Linked DNA regions of Homo sapiens: regions 1 and 3 are each linked to region 2. Evidence: promoter capture Hi-C in 16 types of primary human blood cells and fetal thymus (Javierre and others, 2016). All regions are on one chromosome and are shown on one strand. The core of a region is centred on a gene start or on the middle of the fragment in contact, and the rest is flanking DNA. Distances in the headings are between cores, read along the strand shown.

Evidence for each region. The method cuts DNA at HindIII sites, captures the fragments that hold promoters and counts their contacts. A CHiCAGO score of 5 or more calls a contact.
Region 1: a contact is called between the fragment with the promoter of ALOX12B here and the fragment with the promoter of GUCY2D in region 2, in 1 of 17 cell types (monocytes). The highest score is 5.1, in monocytes.
Region 3: a fragment that was not itself captured here is called in contact with the fragment with the promoter of GUCY2D in region 2 in 1 of 17 cell types (activated CD4 T cells); the score reaches 5.2 in activated CD4 T cells.

What each region holds. Positions count from the first base shown.
Region 1 is chr17:8,086,366-8,090,049 of GRCh38, reverse strand. ALOX12B (arachidonate 12-lipoxygenase, 12R type) reads left to right here and starts at 2,334. Exons shown (of 15, transcript NM_001139.3): 1 at 2,334-2,754. The coding sequence starts at 2,608. It overlaps MIR4314 (microRNA 4314), which reads right to left and starts at 1,994; the gene lies at 1,903-1,994. RefSeq lists an enhancer at 2,558-3,306. The HindIII fragment of the contact is 26,367 bases long and covers 1-3,684 here.
Region 2 is chr17:8,001,250-8,005,002 of GRCh38, reverse strand. GUCY2D (guanylate cyclase 2D, retinal) reads right to left here and starts at 2,388. Exons shown (of 20, transcript NM_000180.4): 1 at 2,269-2,388; 2 at 1,235-1,964; 3 at 847-1,151. The coding sequence starts at 1,955. The HindIII fragment of the contact is 12,410 bases long and covers 1-3,753 here.
Region 3 is chr17:7,894,631-7,897,942 of GRCh38, reverse strand. It overlaps CHD3 (chromodomain helicase DNA binding protein 3), which reads right to left. Exons shown (of 40, transcript NM_001005273.3): 9 at 2,793-3,026; 10 at 2,401-2,604; 11 at 649-860. Among named protein-coding and RNA genes, the nearest start is that of CHD3, 7.5 kb to the right of the region's middle. RefSeq lists an enhancer at 2,996-3,312. The HindIII fragment of the contact is 5,669 bases long and covers 1-3,312 here.

The sequences.
Region 1 (3,684 bases), core at 1,085-3,584, 85 kb before region 2:
AAGCTCCATGGGTGCAGGGGTTTGCTTTGATCGCATTGTATTTTCAGGACCTGACACAGCGCTGAACACACAGTAGGGGTTCGGCCAGTGTCTGTTGATGAATGAATGAAAGGCACGTGGTCCCAGACAGAAGAGAGCAAAGGGGAATGTGAGGGGTGAAGCCAATCAGGCAGGCCGTGGGGGCCACGGGAGGGGATGGTGTCACTGTCCCAAAGGTAAAGAGGAGCCACTGCCAGGCTTGATCAGGGTTGGGAGGAGGGAACATAGAGAGTGATGTGAACAGATTTGGGTCTGGAAAAGATCATTTCAATCCCCAACTCCAGCCACATCTGTGTCTCTAACCTAAACCTGAATTGCAGTTTCGACCCCATTCCACATCCAGTCTGGAACCTACTGGAACCTTCTCTTCATCTCACAATCCCAGCCCCCTCTGACCCTAACTTGGCCTGGGCATTGAATGACCTTCCTTCGATGGTGATGGAAGCGTGCCATCAGGGAGGAAAGCAGGGCTATGCTTCCTGGTTGACAGAAGCTGCTCCTCGGAGGTGAAAGGAAAGAGGACAGGTCCAGAAAAAGGGAATAGGAACGTGCCTGCCTCCTCACTCTCCCTGGGTCCCAAATCCTATCTTTGGAGAGTCTATCTCTGACTCTCTCATAATGCTCTTCACCTTACTCCTAACACCTTCTCCCTATCCTGCGGCTCTGACTTCTGTGATTCTATCAGCAACTAGTTCCCAATCCCAACCTCCCACGCTTATTTTCTTCAGAGCACTTAGTATCCAAAATTATAGTGAACAAATTCTTGTTTACTGTTTCTTTCACTTCTTTCCCAGCTATTCCGTAAGCTCCATGTATGTTTCATTTCTTCTCTGCCTCTGCAGTGCCTAGAACGCCGTGCACCGTGCTCACTACATATCTGAGGGAGGAACGACCTGGTTCCCAACAAACACAGTTCCACTGGAGCTCAGCCCTGCCTCCAGCCCTCTTCCTAGCTTCATTCTTTTTTGGGAGGGAAGTGAGGGTATGTACTTTATGAAATTAAAGGATAACACATAATGAAATGAATGAAGTACCCTAGACGCCCCTCAGATCAAGATAAGAACACCTCCAGCAGCCTATATGGCCTCCCTCTGCCAGGGATACTCACCAGTAGAGGTTGTCTGAGAATTGCTCAGTTTTGCTGGTTCTGGAAGTTCCTATCAATGGATAACAGAACGTATCCCCTTTAATGTCTGGCTCTTTTTGCTCAGTATCATCTTTGTGAGACTCATCCGCATTGCAGTTCATTCTTTTTATTCCTGGGTAGAATTCTATTTTATGATTATACCACAAAATATTGATCATATTAATCCATTATTTAACTTAATTCTTTTGTCTTTTTTTTTTGGAGACGGAGTCTTGCTCTGTTGCCCAGGCTGGAGTGCGGTGGCACGATCTCAACTCACTGCAACTTCCGCCTCCTGAGTTCAAGCGATTCTCCTGCCTCAGCCTCCCAAGTAGCTGGGACTACAGGCGCATGCCACCACGCCTGGCTAATTTTTGTATTTTTAGTAGAGACAAGGTTTCACCATGTTGGCCAGGCTGGTCTCGAACTCTTGAGCTCAGGTGACCCACCTGCCTTGGCTTTCTAAAGTGCTGGGATTACAGGCGTGAGCCACCACGCCCAGCTATTTAACTTAATTCTTATGCCCCAGATTTCACTCTGTCTTCTAATTTAGTTTTTTTTTTTTTTTTTTTGGGCTTCTGATTTTATATCCAACTCCAATCCCTCACCAGTGGATCCTGGCCCCACAGGAAGCAACAGATCCCCTTCTCCTACCCTGATCGTTCCTCCCCGCAGCATCTTCAGGCCTTTGGGCACCCATGTGGTCCCCGAGCCCTAGCTTCAACACCTCCCACCCTTCCAGTCACAGACTCTGGGCCCTGGGGCAGAAGGACAGGCCAGCTTTCTCACTGTGGCCACTACCTGTCCCATTTCCCAGAGAGGAATGGCCTGGAGGCTGGCCAGCTGCGCTGCCACTTAGTGCCCCTCCCCCTCCCCTCCCCCGCCCACCAGTGGCCTCAGAACCAATGCAAGTCACTCACTGCCCATGGCCCTGCTTAGTAGGGGTGCCTGGCACTGTAGCCAATGGGGACTGGCAGGAGGAAGGAGCTTATTAGTCTGATAAAGATCTGGGGACCACACCCTGCCCCCTCCCGCAACTTCCCTAGGGCCCTGGCTCAGGCTGGACTGGCTCCCCCACCCTGAAGGCGCCTTCATCCACGGCATCTTCTATCCGCCCTTTCAGAGGCAGGCCCAGTGCCCTGCCTGCTCTTCCTCCCCACCAGCTCCCAGAAGGCTTGGAGCCCAGACACCTGCTCACTCACCACCAGCTGGGCTCCGCCTGGGCCTGCCCGGCACCCACCCCGGCCACCAAGGGCAGCAGCTTTTCCAGAATTTGGCTGGCAGGCCTAGTCACCCCACCTCGCCACCTCACCACTGCACCTCGGAGGCCAGCCCTGTCCACTCCACTCTGTGCCTGGCTTCTCTTGCCTGCCTTGGGCCTTCGTGTGGCCCCTCCACGGTGTCTGGGACTGAGTGCCCCTCTTGCCTCCTGAAGAGCAGCCATGGCCACCTACAAAGTCAGGGTGGCCACAGGCACCGACCTCTTGTCGGGAACACGGGACTCCATCTCACTGACCATTGTGGGGACACAAGGAGAGAGCCATAAGCAGCTGCTGAACCACTTTGGGAGAGACTTTGCAACTGGGGCGGTAAGAGTGTGTGTGTGTGTGTGTGTGTGTGTGTGTCTGTGTGTGTGTGTGTGTGTGTCTGTGTGTGTCTGTGTGTGTCTGTGTGTCTTTGTGGCCCCGGGAGGGGTGAAGGTGCGCAGGGGGAGCCAGGTGAGCTGAGCTTGGCGAGGAGAGGCTGGAGAGCTGAGGCACAGCTCCGAAGGCAGTGGGCTCCCCAGTGGCTCTACACGCCTTGTCCAGAGCTGGCTTCCAGCCCCTCGCCCATGTCCCAGATCTCTGGGCCATCCTTCTCCATCCTGCTCCTTCATCTCTAACCCTTTCAGGCATTCCTCATCTCCCTCCCCATCCTTTTCTTCTCTCTCCCTCTTCCTCAGCCCTCTCTCCCTGTCTCTGCCTATCCTGCATCTCTCTTTTCTCAATCCTTTCCACCTGCTTTCCTTCCCCTTTGCTCTCCTCCCCTTTCTGTCTTACCCCCTCTCCCGCATCCCTCTCTCTTCCATTCTCAGTCACTCTTCCTAATTCAGCTGCCTCCTAACTGTCTCACATTTGCACTGGATTCTCTGTGACTTAAAATGGCATCAGACCAGCCTGTCCAGTGGAAGGCACGCTTTGCGGGTCCTCAGACCTGATTTTCAGTCAGACCCAGCCACCTGCTGCTAGGCGACCTTAATAGGTCACTCTATCTATGTGGCCATTCTGAATATCTGCATCTTCATTGATGAATGGGAGAAGGGGCTGGCTGGGCCTCTCCCCACTCGAAAACTGTAGAGTGGTACCCAAGTCCCCAGGGGTCTGAAGGGTTCCTGCAACCTCAGGTGCCTGGAGAGGGGAGTGGGAGAAGACAGGAGCTGGGGATGGAGAGAAGGAGGGGCTGGAGTCCTACATAGCCCTGGGTAGAGGAATCCAGTAGGAGACCCCCAAGCTGGAGAAGTCAGAAGGAAGCTCAATGAT
Region 2 (3,753 bases), core at 1,139-3,638:
TCCACTGACCGACCCTCCCTCCATCCCATCTCATTATGATTCCTATCTTGTATTCTCTTCTGACTATTCCCATCACTGCACCCCTCCCCCCTCCATTGGACACCTCCAATCCTCTTGGAAGAATCTAGGGGCATCGATGGGAAATTGCAACCCCTACGACCCTTCTCTCATGCAGCCGCCTGTGAGTTGGACCTTTGTGGTGGTTAATTCACTGCCCGTTGACATCTAAATTCCCTTCTCATAGTGGTTTCTAGTCCCCCTTTGTGGCGGGAGTAAAGTTAGATGATCTGAACTGGGATTCTGGGGACTTGGGGATCCCTAGGTATTAGCTGGATGTTGGAAATACACTATGGATCTGGTTAGGATTGCCCCTGAATCCACCCAGGGAACTTTCTGCTTCTTGCAAGGTGTCTAGGCCCTTGAAAAGCTAAGACCACCAGATGAGGCCCCAGAGGAAATACCTCTGAACTAGGGATGAAGGTTGGATTGGCATCCTCCCTCCTTCCTGCTTTCAAGAACACCAAGTATTTATTTTAGACAGCTGGGAGTATGTGGTGGTGGAAACGGGTTTACTTTGAAGCCAATTGCAAAAGGTTTTGCAGTTTACAGTTCATTAGAGTTTACTGCTTGATGTTGGACTTGAGAGGTCGAATTGCCTACTCTCTAGAGGCAATCCTCGTACACTAAGAGACCCCAAGTGGGGCCAGAGCCTCTACATTACCCAGGAAACTCCAAACAGCTAGAGCTGCCAGTGGTTCTTTCTCCATTGGCTGCATCCTCCTCTCCCTGCTTTGGCTGTCCTCTCCCCTCTCCCTTGCCTTCTTCCCTCCTCCCGGGACCGTCTACCTGCTGCAGATTGAGGTCAGAGGGCAGCTCGCGGCGCTCTTGAGCCCTGCGCAGGCTGTCCAGCACGCTGCCTTCAGAGGGACAGTGGCGCGTGAGGGTGAGCACGGCATCGTGGGCCCTGCGAAGCTGGGAGCTGTTGGCGAGTGCGGCCAAGGCCTCCGGGCCTGGGGACAAGGCGTAGTGGATCGTGTCGAAGGGCAGGAAGACCAGGGAGCCATCGGTCAGGCCCAGCTCCTCTGCGGCCTCCAGGAGGTAGCGCTGCTCCTCGCCACCCAGCAGCACCGAGTGCATCACCATGATCACTGCTGCGGACAGAGGCTTGGCTCGCGGCGCCGTCCGGCTGCCGGCAGGACCAGCCGACCTCCTCGCACCCTGCAAGGGAGCCTACCTGTGACCCTGGGCCCGTCCCGAACCTTCCTCAGGGCCTCCCGGGCTCCAGACAGGTCCAAGGGCTCCATGGAAGTCACGGAGGCGACAGGCAGGCCCCGGGCCCTGAGTGCCGTGGACAGTGAGCGTCCCGCCTCCACCCACAGGTCCTGGGGGGCGGTGACCAGGGCCACGCGCGCCCAGCCGAATGCGCGAAGCAGGGCGTAGAGGGCATCCGCGGCGGGGGTCACGGCAGGGGCCGTGGTGCCCTCCGCCTGCGTCCAGGGGCAGCCCCAGGGCACCAGCGCGATCCCGGCTTCTTCGGCGAGCAGCTCGGCTGGCCGGCAGGCCGCAGGGTTCACCGGACCCACGAGGCCCGACACGCGGGCCAGCGCGGAGGACACGGCCCCCAGCGAGCCCGGCGTCCGGCAAGGCTCGGGCAGCAGCGCTACCTCGAAGCGGGGACCGCCTGCCAGGCCGGGGTCGCGGTTCAGGCGGGCGGCGGCCAGGCGGGCGGCCAGGTCCGGGCGAGCCCGAGAGAAGATGGGGTCGCAAGCCCAGGGGCCCAGGACCCCCACCGTGAACACGGCGGAGAGGGCGGGGGGCTGCAGCAGAAGCAGGAGCAGCAGGAGCGGGAGCCGGGGCAGGGCCCGGGGGAGGCGGGGCAGGGACGGAGCCCACCACGCGGGACCGCAGAGCCCGGGGTCCGGAAGCCCACCCGCTCGGCGGGCGCAGGCGGTCATTGCCGGCTTCTGCGAACACAGACGGAGCAGGCTGAGCGACTGAGACCCCGGCCTCCCCTAGGGTTCTCCCCGTAACCCCGAGTTTCTCCAAGCCCGAGTAACCCATGGGATGATTCTGCTGCTACCGCCCCCTCCGGAGGCTGGGAAGACTAACTGGGGCCAAGGACACCGCCCCGAAGCCCCCTTCTGCCGCCCCGGCTTCCCGCTCCCACCCGGCCTGCCCCTCCCCCCGTCGGAGGCGTCAGGGGTCAGCAGGGACTCGCCTGCGCCCTCAGACCGACCCTATCCCAGCGGAGGGGCCTCTGACATTTACAGGGAAGTCCGGGGGCTCGGGCCCACGGCCCCCGGTGAGGGGTCACAGGGCCGGTCCCCCTTTTGACGCCCGCCCACAGGTCTTCCTTGCCAGCCCAGGCCAGGGCGGGGGCGTGGGTACAGCCGGCCAGAGCCCTTAATCTCCCCAAGCTGATTAGGGTCCTTAATTAGGTAGGGAGGGGCGGGCTAGTGGAGGATGAGAGCCCCTACTGCGCCTTTCTGGGGTGGGATCTGTCCTGGCTTCCAGGTAGTCAGCCAGATCCTTTCCCCTCCATGCCTTCCAGCCCCCCACATCACCCTCATCACCACCACCCCTGCACAAAAGCAGCCGCAGCTTCCCCTTTCAGCCGTCGGCCACACTGCCCTGCTCAGCCAGAAAGTAACAAGTGCCTGCCCGTGGACAGCTGTGGGTAATCCGTCCTGGAGAAGAAACACTGATCCCAGTCCCTTTCCTTACAATCTTCTGTTTCCAGTTCTGCCAGCTAAGTTCAAGCTCCATCCTTTGGCTGGCAAAGTCTATATCCCAGAGACCAAACCCACACCAAGCTGACACCTGCCTTTCTTCTTTCACTTCTCTTCTCTCTCTCGCCACACTTGATTCCCTGACCTCTGCTTCTCCATGCCTAGAAAACCACCCTCAGGAAGTAATGAAAAGAGCTTTGGCCTCCGACAGACCTGGGTTCCAAGTCCCTCTTGCTGATTTTTGGACCTTGGGCAATTGCTTAATCTGAGGGTTGTTGTGAAAATGAATATAATTGCCCGGATGGCAAGAATAGCTAACAATTTTAGAGAAGAGTATAATGGAAGATGCCCTATAAGATATACAAATTTATTATAAAGCAATAGCAATTATGTATTTATGTAAATATATAATATATAAAACATAGCAATTATATATCTACATAAATATATAATATATAAAACATAGCAATTATATATTTATATAATTATATGATATATAAAACAGCAATTATATAAATATATACTATAAAGCTATAGCAATTATATATTATATATTTATATAAATCCACATTATGTAGTGACAGCAATTATATATTTATATAAATATATATTATAAAGCTATGGCAATAAAGACTTCATAGTTTTGGCACAAGGATAAACAAATGGACCAATGAAATAGAATATACAGTACTGAAACAAACACAGCAAATGTGTGAAGACGTGGACATTTCTTACCAACTGGGAAAGAATAAACTTCAACAAATGGAGCTGATTAGCCATCTGGGGGGAAAATAGAATTCAATCCCTATCTCACACCATACACAAAATCTATTCCAGGTCAAAGACCTATATGTGAAAAATAAAACTTAAAAACTTTTAAATGAATCATTTTCAGACTTGGTGGCAAAGATTGGATCAGGTAAGAATCATCAGTGGATTCTAAAGCTGGGGGAAATGTTGGATGAGGAGCAGAACTTTTGCAGGGTCTGAAAGTATCTCCCTCCAGATTGCCATGAGTTGGAAG
Region 3 (3,312 bases), core at 1-2,500, 110 kb after region 2:
CAGGAGGAAAATATTGCACAGATCACAAACAGAAAGAAGGCCTGAGAAACGCAATTATCAGCAAACACACAAAATTTGTCACCCAACCGTCAACAGTGAGCTGCTGGAAGGGAGATTGGAATAGTTGACCTAGCAGCCTAACCTTCTCAGGATGGTATCCTAAAAATCAGCTATCACAAAACATTCCTGGAGATCCCTCCTTATCATTTGTTCACCTAATCACTAAGTATTTTCCTCATGGAACTCAGAGTCTCGTGGGGAAGGCAGCATTGAAATAACTAAATACATACCATTAAGTTTAGGCAGTAATAAGTACTATGAAGAAGAAACATTCAAAACACTGGTCTGGATGAATTATGTCTCTCATGTTTTGCTTTCATGCCCTCATCCCCAGACTCATGTGCTATGTCTTATGCCACTGGAGATGACAGGAGGCAAAGGACAAAAGAGGCACTGCCTGGCCGGATTTTCCTCCTGTTTTCTCCCGTTCCCCTGGAGGAAACAAGGCCAGAAAGGCTGGAGCTACAGCAGAGGTTATCAAGGTTAGATCAATTACCTGGTTAATCAGCAAATACTAACATGGGGCCATCACCATGGTAAGAATAATGTCATATACCAGGTCTGACTTCCCAGGGACCGAGGATTCACCTGTGGTTGATGATGCGGTGGACGGTCATCCACTCTGGCTTGATGCCAAAACGATAGTACTTCTCCTCCATCTCAGCATAGTGCGGGTCTTTCACTTTACGCTTGTCGCTCTTCCCATCATCCTCGCCGGAGCCATAGTCCAGGGGTGGGGGCTCATCCATGTCATTCTTCCGCTGGTAGTTTCGATACATAACCAAATGGAAGATTTCCAGCTAGCAGGGCACAGAAAAAAGGGAAAGAGATAGTCCTGACACTCACAGAGGACAACAAGGAACCGGGAAGAGGCCGGCAGGAGGAATGGGACAGGGAAAGGGAGCTATGAAAAAGGATGGATTGGCCCAGGCACGGTGGCTCATGCCTGTAATCCCAGTGCTTTAGGAGGCTCAGGCGGGTGGATCACCTGAGGTCAGGAGTTCAAGACCAGCCTGGCCAACATGGCGAAACCCCGTCTCTACTAAAAATACAGAAATTAGCCAGGTGTGGTGGCGCACGCCTGTAATCCCAGATACTCAGGAGGCTGAGGCAGGAGAATCGCTTGAATGCATGAGGCGGAGGTTGCAGCGAGCCAAGATCACACCACTGCACTCCAGCCGGGGCAATAAGAGAATAACAGGCGCGTCCCAGCACTTTGGGAGGCAGAGGCAGGTGGATCACCTGAGGTTGGGAGTTCGAGACCAGCCTGATCAACATGGAGAAACCCCGTCTCTACTAAAAATACAAAATTAGCCAAGCGTGGTGGCGCATGCCTGTAATCCCAGCTACTTGAGTGGCTGAGGCAGGAGAATCGCTTGAACCCAGGAGGCAGAGGTTGCAGTAAGCCAAGATCGTGCCACTGCACTCCAGCCTAGGCAACAAGAGCGAAACTCCATCTAAAAAAAAAAAAAAATAGAAAAAAAAAGAAAAAGGATGGATTAGAGATAAATGAGTCAAAGCCAAGACGGAGAATAAATAAAATGAAACAGATGCAACAGTTTCAGAAGACAAGGCCTGGGTGGGGCTCTTACAAGCAAGAGATAGGGAATGGGATTAGAAACATTGAGAATTTTTTTTTTTTTTTTTTTTTTTTTGAGATAGAGTGTCGCTCTGTCGCCCAGGCTGAAGTGCAGGGACACGATCTTGGCTCACTGCAAGCTCCGCCTCCCGGGTTCACGCCATTCTCCTGTCTCAGCCTCCTGAGTAGCTGGGACTACAGGTGCCTGCCACCACGCCCAGCTAATTTTTTTGTATTTTTAGTAGAGATGGGGTTTCACCATGTTAGCCAGGATAGTCTCGATCTCCTGACCTCAGGTGATCCGCCCACCTCGGCCTCCCAAAGTACTGGGATTACAGGCGTGAGCCACCACACCCAGCCGAGAATTTTTTTTTAAACAGAGATGGGGTTTCACTATGTTGCCCAGGCTGGTCTCAAGCAATCCTCCTGCCTTGGCCTCCCAAAGTGCTAGGATTATAGGTGTGAGCCACCATGCCCAGCCAGGAATATTATAAAACATGGAAAAAGACAGATAAGGAAGGACATGAAGTTAGGAAAGGCTATGCTATATCTGAGGGAAGGAAGCTAACGGAGACTGAGAGAAAGAGGACTGTAGACCAAAAGAACCACATATGGAAACTAAGCAAGTAGGGTATGAAGGCCACAGGCCTGAAATGAGAGAAAACAAAGAGTATGGGAACCCAACAAACAGAGGAGTAAGAGAGGGAGAGGATGGCAGGAAATGAGGTCATGGGGGAGAGGGAAAGAAAAGGTCCTAGTACCTGAAGCTCCTTGGCCCAGGAGCAGTGCCAGTAGGATAGTCCTACCCACTTGACAAAGAACTCTCGCTCTGATCTGCCTTGAAGAGGACGGGGGGGTGGGACATCTGGATTTCCATCTGCCTGTTGAGGGGCTGGCACTGCTACAGGTGGCTCCCCCCACCGCCAATGTAGGATCTTCTGCACTCGACCCTTCAGCACGGGGCACTTTGGGATGGACACGTACAAGGAGGAGGAAAGAAAGAGGCAGAAAGAACCCATTGTTAGATGAGAAGATAGGGGTCCCACAAGGGTGGGGGAGTGCAGAGAAATGAAAAGCTGGACATGTGGGCCCCAGGGATGGGGGAAGGGATCAGGCCTGACAGTAAATACAGAGGGGAGATGTTTCCACTCACTGTGCATCGGGGACACAGCCATTCACCATTGGGAATGTCAGGCAGGGGAGGGTTTAGACAATGAATGTGGTAGGAGGAGATGCACGCGTCACAGCACAGGAGCTCCCCGCCGTCCTTGCATACGCGGCAGTACTCCATGTGATCATCCTCCTCCTCCTTCTCCCCTTCTTCCTCTCCCTCCTCTTCGTATTCTTCTTCTTCCTCCTTGGCCTCCCACTGGACCCCCTCCTTCTCCTAGGGGGCCAAGGATAGACACACAGACAGATGGAAGAAATTAAGGAATGAAACTGGAAGATACAGGCAAAGACAGGACACCTGAATCCTAGAAGTGCAGAGAAGACTGGTGGGAACTAAGGAAAAGGACACTCCAGTTTCAGAAATGTTGATTGTGGGAGAAAGGAATACATTAGGATCCTAGACACTCGGACATCTGTTACTAAGAAGTCCAGCCATCTGGGGGCAGGAAGAGGGTAAGTGAAACCAAGGGGGAAAGAGATGGGTGGGTTCCTCAGGGCCATCA